Linked DNA regions of Homo sapiens: region 1 is linked to region 2. The links are contacts of gene promoters, found by promoter capture Hi-C in human tissues and cell types (Jung and others, 2019). All regions are on one chromosome and are shown on one strand. Each heading gives the region's core, a stretch centred on a gene start or on the middle of the fragment in contact. The rest is flanking DNA. Distances are from core to core; before and after follow the strand shown.

Region 1 (5,252 bases), core at 2,357-4,856, 150 kb after region 2:
GATGCCTGAACCCCTTGCCCATTTGAGACGGGCTGTGAGGGTCGGGTGGTTCAGGGAGGGAAGGATGGCAGGGCCGCTGCTCCTACCCCCACCCCCCCAACCTCTCTGGGCTCTGAAGCAACGTATCAAACTTCCCATTCCCCCGTCAGAGCCATCTATCCACCATCCATCCATCCATTCATTCGGCCATCCATCCACCATCCATGTGTCCACCATCCATCCTTTTATCCGTCCATTCAGCAAATATCCATCGAGCCCCTGCCCTGTGCCAATGTTGTTCTAGGCACAAGGGATACTTCAGCAAGCCATTCATTCTATTTGGGGGATAAACAATAACGAAACAAATAAATAAGAAGATAACAGTAGTGCCGTGCTGCAGTGAATAATGGATCCACATTGCCCCAGGACAGCACTGCCCACACCGTGATGTACAAAAAGCGATGCACAAGAGGGCCAGAGCCTGGCCCCACCTAGCAAGGGGTCCACCGAGCCCCTCCCTCATTATCCGCGGCTGTCCCCATGACACCCCCGCTACCCGCTGCACAGGCCAAGACCCGGGAGTTCCTATACTCCATTCCTCCTCACACACCTGCCGTGACCTCAGCGAGTTGTGGGCAGGTGAGGTCACTTCACGCACCCGGTCTTCCCGCTTCTCTCCAGCCTTCCCACCATGCCCAGCCCATGCTGTCATCATGCCCACTCCCACCACAGCAAAGCCCACTAACATCCATCCGCTTCAACTTGTGCTTGCCACGGCAGCTGCCCATGTTTCTCAAGTGTGACCAGGTTGCACTGCTGTTGGGATTAAAACCTGCAGCCAAAAGAGAATCTGAAGTGGCCACCAGAGTCCATGAGGCCTGGTCCGACTGGGCGGCTAGCCACTCTGCCCCACTTCTCTCCACCCCTTGTTCTCCTCTCTAAGCCCCACCGCAGCCCTGCCTTTCACCCTCAGGGCTCTGCACTTGCATCCACCTGTGCTGTGAACACGCTCTGCCCAGTCCCGGCACGGCTGGCTCCCTACTCGTCAGAGACTCTGGCCTCCTCCTCTAAGACAGCCCGCCCCATCTCTCTCCCCCGCTCAGCCAGGAGAGCCACCCCCTTCCCAGTCTGGCTTCCACCAGCCTCTGAGTCTTGGCAAACCAGAAACTCCCCGCTGGCTGGGGAAACTGACTGTCTGATTGGCTGGGGGCGGACAGAGCCTGGCTAACCCTGACTAACAGTTGGAGGGCTACGTGAGAAAAAATGGCTCCAGTAAGTGCTTGGAAGCCTGTAGTTTGAGGCAGCAGCAAGCTGGGGACAGGCCAAGGCTGAGGGTGGGACAATGGGCATCAGGCCTCAAAGAACCTGGATCCTGTGCGATCTCGCTTTTCCTTGCTGCCATCTGGAGCCGGGGAGAAATGCGCTCCCACGTGCTCTGTGTGTCACACACACACACACACACACACACACAGGGAGAAATGGGCTCCCACGTGCTCTGTGTGTCACACACACACACACACACCCAGGGAGAAATGGGCTCCCACGTGCTCTGTGTGTGTCTCTCACACACACACACACACACACACACACACACCCAGGGAGAAATGCGCTCCCACGCGCTCTGTGTCACACACACACACACACACACACACACACCCAGGGAGAAATGCACTCCCACGTGCTCTGTGTCTCTGTCTTACACACACACACACACACCCAGGGAGAAATGCGCTCCCACGTGCTCTGTCTCTGTCTTACACACACACACACACACACACACACACACACCCAGGGAGAAATGAGCTCCCACGTGCTCTGTGTCTCTGTCTTACACACACACACACACCCAGGGAGAAATGAGCTCCCACGTGCTCTGTGTCTCTGTCTTTCACACACACACACACACACACACACACACCCAGGGAGAAATGAGCTCCCACGTGCTCTGTGTCTGTCTTTCACACACACACACACACACACACACACACCCAGGGAGAAATGAGCTCCCACATGCTCTGTGTCTCTCTCTCACACACACACACACACACACACCCAGGGAGAAATGAGCTCCCACGTGCTCTGTGTCTCTGTCTTACACACACACACACACACACACACACACACACCCCCAGGGAGAAATGAGCTCCCACGTGCTCTGTCTCTGTCTTTCACACACACACACCCAGGGAGAAATGAGCTCCCACGTGCTCTGTGTCTCTTTCACACACACACACACCCAGGGAGAAATGAGCTCCCACGTGCTCTGTCTTTCACACACACACACACACACACCCAGGGAGAAATGAGCTCCCACATGCTCTGTGTCTCTGTCTTTCACACACACACACACACACACACACACACACACACACACCCAGGGAGAAATGAGCTCCCACGTGCTCTGTGTCTGTCTTTCACACACACACACACACACACACACACACACACACACCCAGGGAGAAATGAGCTCCCACGTGCTCTGTGTCTCTGTCTTTCTCACACACACACACACACACACACACACACACCCAGGGAGAAATGAGCTCCCACGTGCTGTGTCTCTGTCTTTCACACACACACACACACACACACACACCCAGGGAGAAATGAGCTCCCACGTGCTCTGTGTCTCTGTCTTTCACACACACACACACACCCCCAGGGAGAAATGAGCTCCCACGTGCTCTGTCTCTGTCTTTCACACACACACACACACACCCAGGGAGAAATGAGCTCCCACGTGCTCTGTGTCTCTTTCACACACACACACACACACACACACACACACACACACCCAGGGAGAAATGAGCTCCCACGTGCTCTGTGTCTCTGTCTTTCACACACACACACACACACACACCCAGGGAGAAATGAGCTCCCACGTGCTCTGTGTCTCTGTCTTTCACACACACAAACACACACACCCAGGGAGAAATGAGCTCCCACGTGCTCTGTGTCTCTGTCTTTCACACACACACACACACACACACACCCAGGGAGAAATGAGCTCCCACGTGCTCTGTGTCTGTCTTTCACACACACACACACACACACCCAGGGAGAAATGAGCTCCCACGTGCTCTGTGTCTCTGTCTTTCACACACACACACACACCCAGGGAGAAATGAGCTCCCACGTGCTCTGTGTCTGTCTTTCACACACACACACACACACACACACACACCCAGGGAGAAATGAGCTCCCACGTGCTCTGTGTCTCTTTCACACACACACACACACACACACACACACACACACACACACACACACACACACACACGGCTGCAGGTGAGTTGTTTCTAGAACCAGAGCTTATATGAAGAGAAAAATAGAAGGGACAGAACAGTGTGTTCCCAGATCACACCTGCAGTTCCCACAGGCTGGGGTGGGGGTCTGGGGCCCGGCTCTGCTGGCTCAGTCACTTTGCTTCTCCTCAAGTTCCCTCTGTGGAACTGGGCGCTGTTTCCACCAAACCGTCTGCTCTCCAGTCCCACAGGGGCTGCTGTCAGTCACCCTACGGCCTCTCTGCCTAGGCTTTGAAACTGATTCATTGTTCTTTTGCTGTATTTTTCTTTGTAGGTTTCAGAATTCTCTGTTTATTTATGATAATTTGGGAAGGATCCTGGGAGAGTGAAAATAAATGAAGTGCGCAATCTGCCAAGTTTCACTGGAGGCTCCACTGATCCTTCCACCATGCTCAAATGCCTGCAGGAAATCTGGGGAATCATCTTTCCTACCCTAAGACCCTGGGACTTAGCACTGGCCCTGAGGCCCCTGACAGGCATAAACTAATCAGCAAATGTGCAGGAAAAATGCGGAGCTGCAAGATCAAAGTCAGATTCCCACTCTCCCTAAAGGCCTGGATTCCCCTGGAAACCCACATCCTCACTGCCTGGAAGGAGCGATGAGGACCCAGGGGAGTGGCTCTGGGCATCAACTGGTCCAGGCAGGAGGCGGTTCCCCATGTCCCATCTTTCCAGCACCGAAGGGAGCCTCTCAGGGGAGTCTCATCACCTCCCGCCCCACCATCACAGAGCAGCCTGCTCCTGGCCTGTATTCAAACACCCCTGGGGGCGGCCGCCCTGGGCGTGCTCCCCTTTCCCTGATGGCCGCTAGAACTCCGTGAGGAGAGGCTCGCCAGGGTCACCCAGACAGTCCCTGATCCCACATTGTCCCGACACATGAGGCTTCACCCCGGAGGAAATAGGAAAAGGGAGTGAATCCCATGGGCTCCCCTCACAAAAGGAAAGCCACGTGCTGTCACTTGGGTGCAAGATGGGCTATGAGGCTGGAGAAAGTCTCCCAGGGACGCCTCCTGGAGTCTTTTTTTTTCCTTTGCTACTGTGAATAGTGCTGCAATAAACATATCTGTGCCTGTGTCTTTATAACAACAATTTATTTTCCTTTGGGTATATACCCAGTAATGGGATTGCAGGGTGGAATGGTATTTCTGTATTTATATCTTTGAGAAATCACCACACTGTCTTCCACAATGGTTGAACTAATTTACACTCCTGCCAACGGTGTATAAGCATTCCTTTTTCTCCAAAACCTCGCCACCATCTGTTATTTTTTTATTTTTTAATAATAGCCATTCTGACTGATACGATATGGTATCTCATTGTGGTTTTGATTTGCATTTCTTTAATGATCAGTAATATCGAGCTTTTCTTTTCTTTTCTTTTTTAAAGACAGAGTCTCGCTCTGTTTCACCCAGGCTGGAGCGCAGTGGTGCCATCTTGGCTCACTGCAACCCCCGCCTCCCGGTTCAAGCAGTTCTCCTGCCTCACCCTCCCGAGTAGCTGGGATTACAGACATGCATCACCACACTTAGCTAATTTTTGTATTTTTAGTAGAGACGGGTTGGGGGGGCGGGTTTCACCATGTTCGCCAGGCTGGTCTTGAACTGCCGACCTCAGGTGATACACCTGCCTTGGCCTCCCAAAGTGCTGGGATTACAGGCGTGAGCCACCGCGCCTAGCCAAGCTTTTTTTAATATGCTGGTTGGCCTCAAGTTTGTCTTCTTTTGAAAAGTGTTTGCTCATGCCCTTTGCTCACTTTGGAATATTGTTGTTTTATGGCCGGGTGCGGTGGCTCAGGCCTGTAATCCCAGCACTTTGGGAGGCTGAGGCCAGATCACCTGAGGTCAGAAGTTCGAGACCATCCTGGCCAACATGGCAAAACCTTATTTCTACTAAAAAAATACAAAAAATTAATGGCCTGGTGTGGTGGTGGATTACAGGTGGGTGCCTGTAATCCCAGCTACTCAGGAG
Region 2 (5,630 bases), core at 1,058-3,557:
AGAGACATGAGTGAAATATTAAAATCTCCACAAAGGCATGTATGGAGGTTTATCCTGGAGTATTTAGCATCCTGAAACAAGGGGCTCCTGTGTAAGGAGAAAGGAAGTTTGAGCAAATCATAAAGGTCCCTTTTGCCTGACAAAGATTAGACAACATCGGCTGGGCGTGGTGGCTCATGCCTGTAATCCCAGCACTTTGGGAGGCCGAGGCAGGCGGATCACAAGGTCAGGAGTTTGAGACCAGCCTGACCAACATGGCGAAACCCTGTCTCTACTAAAAATACAAAAATTAGCTGGGCGTGGTGGTGCGTGCCTGTAATCCCAGCTACTCGGGAGGCTGAGGCAGGAGAATTGCTTGAACCCAGGAGGCAGAGGTTGCAGTGAGCTGAGATGGCGCCACTGCACTCCAGCCTGGGCGACAGAGTGAGACTGTCTCAAAAAAACAAACAAACAAACAAAAACAAAAAAAAAAGATTAGACAACCTCCATTGACCCAATTCTTAACGCTTTTTTTTTTTTTTTTTTTTTTTTGTGAGGCAGGGTCTCTTCAGTTAATAGGGTTGCTTAAAAAAAAAAAAAAAAAGAGAGAGACAGGGTCTCAATCTGTTTCCCAGGCCAGAGTGCTGTGGTACAATCAGGGCTCACTGCAGCCTCGACCTCCTGGGCTCAAGTGATCCTCCCACCTCAGCCCCCCACCCCAAGAAGCTGGGACTACAGGTGCACCATGTAGTCCCACCATGAACACTCCTGAGTTCATGACACATGTAAGTGGTCCATGCAGGGCCTTTTCTCCTTTGTGTTTATTTATGTATTCCCTTTTGTCCCTATTCTTCCCCTCTCTCCCCACCACACCTGGCTAATTTTTTTGTTGTTTGTTTTTGAGACAGAGTCTTACTCTGTCGCCCAGGCTGGAGTACAGTGGCACGATCTTGGCTCATTGCAACCTTTGCTTCCCAGTTTCAAGCGATTCTCCTGCCTCAGCCTCCCAAGTAGCTGGAATTACAGACACCTGCCACCACACCCGGCTAAATTTTGTATTTTTAGTAGAGACGGGGTTTCACCATGTTGGCCAGGCTGGTCTTGAACTCCTGGCCTCAAGTGATCCTCCCGCCTTGGCCTCCCAAAGTGCTGGGGTTACAAGCGTGAGCCACTGCGCCCAGCCTAATTTTTTGGAGCGACAGGGTTTCACCATGTTGGCCAGGTTGGTCTTGAAGTGCTGAGCTCAAGCCGTCTGCCAGTCTCAGCCTCCCAAAGTGCTGGAATTACGGGCGTGAACCACCGTGCCCAGCCAATTCTTATGCTTTTGCAGCCGCGACCTCCATCCACTCTCTACCCTACATGTCACTCCTCTGCTTAAAACCAAAAGATTTCCACTGTACTTAGAAAAAACTCCACATTCCTCTCTCTGACCTACAGACTCTATGTGACCAAACCCCAATTATCCGACCTCATCTCCTACCACTCTTTCCCTTTCTTACCATACTTTAGCCACACTAGCTTGCTTTCTGTTCCTTGACTATACTCTCAGTTGATTTCTGCCCTAGGGCCTTCACACTGGCTGTTCCCGCTGCCTGGACCACTCTCTTCCCGTATCTTCCTAAGCCTGCCTCCTAATTTGGGTCTCAACGCAAATGTCCCGTCCTCAGAGATGCTCTGCTAGACCACAGTATCTAATACTGACCCCTCCGCCCCACCCTCACACCAGTTACCGTGTCATATCGCCCTCCTCCATTTTTTTTTTTTTTTTACTATACAGTCCTACTTGAAGTTTCTAATCTTTCTTTTCTCATTAACCAAAACTGGAGGGAGGAAAAAGCCCATCATTTTCCCTGGACAGCAGCGCCTACTGGGAGTTTCACCCGCATTAACATGCAAACGACAGGCAAACTCCTAGTCATCCTTCCAAAGACCCTGCTCCATAGCCCTGCCGAGCCCGGTGCGCACCTGCTCACTTCCGACCCAGCGCGGTCGCACGAGGACTGGACGTTTGAGTCCGAGCAACTCCCCCCGGCTGAGGCGGCTCTTCGGGGGCTGGGCCGGGACCTATGAGTCTGGGACTCCAGCTCCCGGCCCAGGGCCGACAACTGCGAAGAGAACAAGCCCAAGGGCAGATTGTTCGGGGCTTAGTCGTGGGTAGCAGGGGTTCTGGAGAAGGCTGGGGCCCGGGAGGCCGGCCGAGCTTTCCCCGCCGCGCGCCTCAGCTCCGCCGGCCGCTGTGCCCGCCCTCGGCCCGCACCTGCCGGCTCCCAAGCCCGCCCGCTCTCACCTCGCCCCGCAGCCCCGGCCCCGGCTTCCGGCGCCACTGTCATCGGAACCGGAAGCCGCGGCGGGCGATCGGCGGCCCGGGCCCGCCCATTGGCGGTTTTGCGGAGGGGTGGCCGTCCCACGAGCCCGCGGCTTTGCGCCTCACCGCCGAGGCTCCCCGCCGCGCATGCCGAGTGGAGTCGCCCGCGGGAACCGGGCGGCGGCCAGAAAAGCCGCGCCTGTAGTCCTCTGGGGGTCGCGCCTGGTCGTTTCCAGGTTCCGAGTCCCTCCGGCCCGGCCCCGGGCCTCCCAGTCGGCGGAAGCCCCTGGCCGCGACCGCTCCTCGCCGGCGGGCGGGTTCCCCACCCGGCAGAGGCGTCGGCCTCGCACTCAACCCAGCACCCGACTCCCGGGTCAGAAGCCCCAAGCCCCAAGTGGTTACGCTTACAGCGCTGCCCGCCCTGCTCAGTGAGGGCGGCGCGGGGGCCGTGAGGGGCAGTGGCTGGGCTAGGTGCGCACCGGCCTCGGCAGGGCTGTGGAGCAGGGTCTTTGGAAGGATGACTAGGAGTTTGCCTGTCGTTTGCATGTTAATGCGGGTGAAACTCCCAGTAGGCGCTGCTGTCCAGGGAAAATGATGGGCTTTTTCCTCTCTCCAGTTTTGGTTAATGAGAAAAGAAAGATTAGAAACTTCAAGTAGGACTGTGAACAGGCTTAGGGATCCTGGACAGAGCCTAGAAATCTCAGGAGAACTGAGAGCTCTTGAAATATGAAGTGATGCTTAAAAAAAAAAAGAAAACTCCAGGCCGGGCGCGGCGGCTCACGCCTGTAATCCCAGCACTTTGGGAGGCCGAGGCGGGCGGATCAGGAGGTCAGGAGATCGAGACCATCCTGGCTAACACGGTGAAACCCCGTCTCTACTAAAAATACAAAAAATTGGCCGGGCGAGGTGGGGGGCGCCTGTAGTCCCAGCCACTCGGGAGGCTGAGGCAGGAGAATGTCGTGAACCCGGGAGGCGGAGCTCGGAGTGAGCCGAGACGGCGCCACTGCACTCCAGCCTGGGCGACAGAGCGAGACTCCGTCTCAAAAAAAAAGAATAGAAAACTCCGGGCCGGGCGGCTCACGCCTGTAATCCCAGCACTTTGGGAGGCTGAGGCGGGCGGAACATAAGGTCAGGAGTTCGAGACCAGCCTGTCCAATATGGTGAAACCCCGTCTGTACTAAAAATACAAAAATTAGCCGGGAATGGTGGCAGGCGCCTGTAGTCCCATGATCCTAGCTACTCGGGAGACTGAGGCAGGAGAATCGTTTGAACCCGAGAGGCGGAGGTTGCAGTGAGCCGAGATCGCGCCATTGCACTCCAGCCTAGGCGACAGAGCGAGACTCCGTCTCAAAAAAAAAAAAAAGAAAAGAAAAGAAAACTCCTTTCCTGTCCCAGCCTTTCTGGTCCCCTTAGCCCGAACTTAATCTGCCCACTGGGTATTCAACAGAATTCAGTTCTGCGGAGGAGGGGGTCCAGCCCTACCCTGCCGCCCTGTGTTGGTCGCTGTCCTGGGGAACGGGGGAAGGGGAGAAGATGGGAGCTGCCCATCTGCCCTAAGGAGGAAGGGTGAGGGTTAGGAAGGAGGAGGGAACAGGCACTGACCCCAAACCCAGGTCCAGACTGAATTTTCTTTTTCTTTTTTTGAGATGAAGTCTTGCTCTGTTGCCCAGGCTGGAGTGCAGTGGTGTGATCTCGGTTCACTGCAACCTCCACCTCCAAGCTTCGAGCGATTGTCCTGCCTCAGCTCCATGAGTAACAGATTACAGACATGCTCCACCATGCCCGGCTAATTTTTGTATTTTTAGTAGAGAGGGGATTTTGCCATGTTGGCCAGGCTGGTCTCAAACTCCTGACCTCAGGTGATCCACCCACCACAGCCTCCCAAATTGCTGGGATTACAGGCATGAACCACCACACCCAGCCCCAGATTGAATTTTCTATCCCGGACCCTCTGCTCTGGAGGGAAAGAGTAGAGAAGTCCCCACTCCTCCTCAGGCCTCAGCTGGGACTAGGAACAGCCCTGGAGAAAAAGCCAGGTCTCTGTGTTGCCCACTTCTGCTCCCTTTTTGGTTGGGCCTCATTCCAGGCCATCCTCCCCTTGAATCCTCCATGCCTTCCCCTCCCTCCCCTTTGCACAACTTACTTTTTTTTTTTTTTTCAAAATAGAGAGGTGGTCTCCCTATGTTGCCCAAGCTGGTTGCGAACTCTTGGCCTCAAGAGATCCTCCCCTCTCAGCCTTTGGAAGTATTGGGATTACAGGAATGAGCCACCATTCCTTGCCCTGTTTTCTTTTTTTTTTTTTTTTTTGAGACGGAGTCTTGCTCTGTCGCCCAGGCTGGAGTACAATGGCATAATCTTGGCTCACTGCAACCTCCGCCTGCCAGGTTCAAGCAATTCTCCTGCTTCAGCCTCCTGAGTAGCTGGGACTACAGGTGCACACCACCATGCCTGGCTAATTTTTTGTATTGTTAGTAGAGACGGGGTTTCACCATGCTGGCCAGGCTGGTCTTGAACTCCTAACCTCGCGATCCGCCTGCTTCGGCCTCCCGAAGTGCTGGGACTACAGGCGTGAGCCACCGCACCCAGCCGACCTGTTTTCTTTATAGCACTTGGAAGTTATCTTGCGTGTTTATTTGTTCATTCTGTCTTCTGGCCCCCACTCCCATCACCCTCTTTGGGGCCAGACATGGTGGCTCACGCCTGTAATCCCAGCACTTTAGGAGGCTGAGGAGGGAGGAATGCTTGTGCCTAGGAGTTCTAGACCAGTCTGGACAACATAGGGAGACCCTGTCTGTACAAATAATACAAAAATTAGCCGGGTGTGGTGGTGCACATCTGTAGTCTCAGCTACTTGGGAGGCTGAGATGGGAGGCTGCCTAGGAGGTCGAGGCTGCAGTGAGCAGTGATCGCGCCACTACTCCAGCCTAGATAACAGAGTGTGAGAGACCCTGTCTCAAAAACAAACAAACATGGGCCAGGCGTGGTGGCTCATACCTGTAATCCCAGTACTTTGGGAGGCCAAGGCGGGTGGATCATTTGAGGTCAGGAATTCAAGACCAGCCTGGCCAACATGGTGAAACCCTGTCTCTACTGAAAATACAAAAAAAAAAAAAAATTAGCCAGGCATAGTGGCAGACACCTGTAATCCCAGCTACTTCGGAGGCCGAGGCAGGAGAATCGCTTGAGCCCGGGAGGCGGAGGTTGCGGTGAGCCAAGATTGCACCACTACACTCCAGCCTGGGCAACAGAGTGAGACCCTGTCTCAAAACAAAACAAAAACGAACAACAAAAAAAAAAATTCCACCAGGCCCATGTTTTGTCTTCATCACTGCCTTATCGCCAACAC

What was found. The method cuts DNA at HindIII sites, captures the fragments that hold promoters and counts their contacts. A contact is called where the count stands out against the background at its distance.
Region 1: a fragment that was not itself captured here is called in contact with the fragment with the promoter of RMND5B in region 2 in 1 of the 25 tissues and cell types used here (dorsolateral prefrontal cortex).

What each region holds. Positions count from the first base shown.
Region 1 is chr5:177,976,810-177,982,061 of GRCh38, reverse strand. No RefSeq gene overlaps it. Among named protein-coding and RNA genes, the nearest start is that of PROP1, 17 kb to the left of the region's middle. RefSeq lists an enhancer at 1,253-1,997. The HindIII fragment of the contact is 5,363 bases long and covers 925-5,252 here.
Region 2 is chr5:178,127,691-178,133,320 of GRCh38, reverse strand. It overlaps RMND5B (required for meiotic nuclear division 5 homolog B), which reads right to left and starts at 2,307. Exons shown (of 11, transcript NM_022762.5): 1 at 2,267-2,307; 2 at 1,945-2,084. RefSeq lists enhancers at 674-1,203, 2,482-3,133, 3,134-3,785, 4,799-5,459 and a silencer at 2,161-2,750. The HindIII fragment of the contact is 16,880 bases long and covers 1-5,123 here.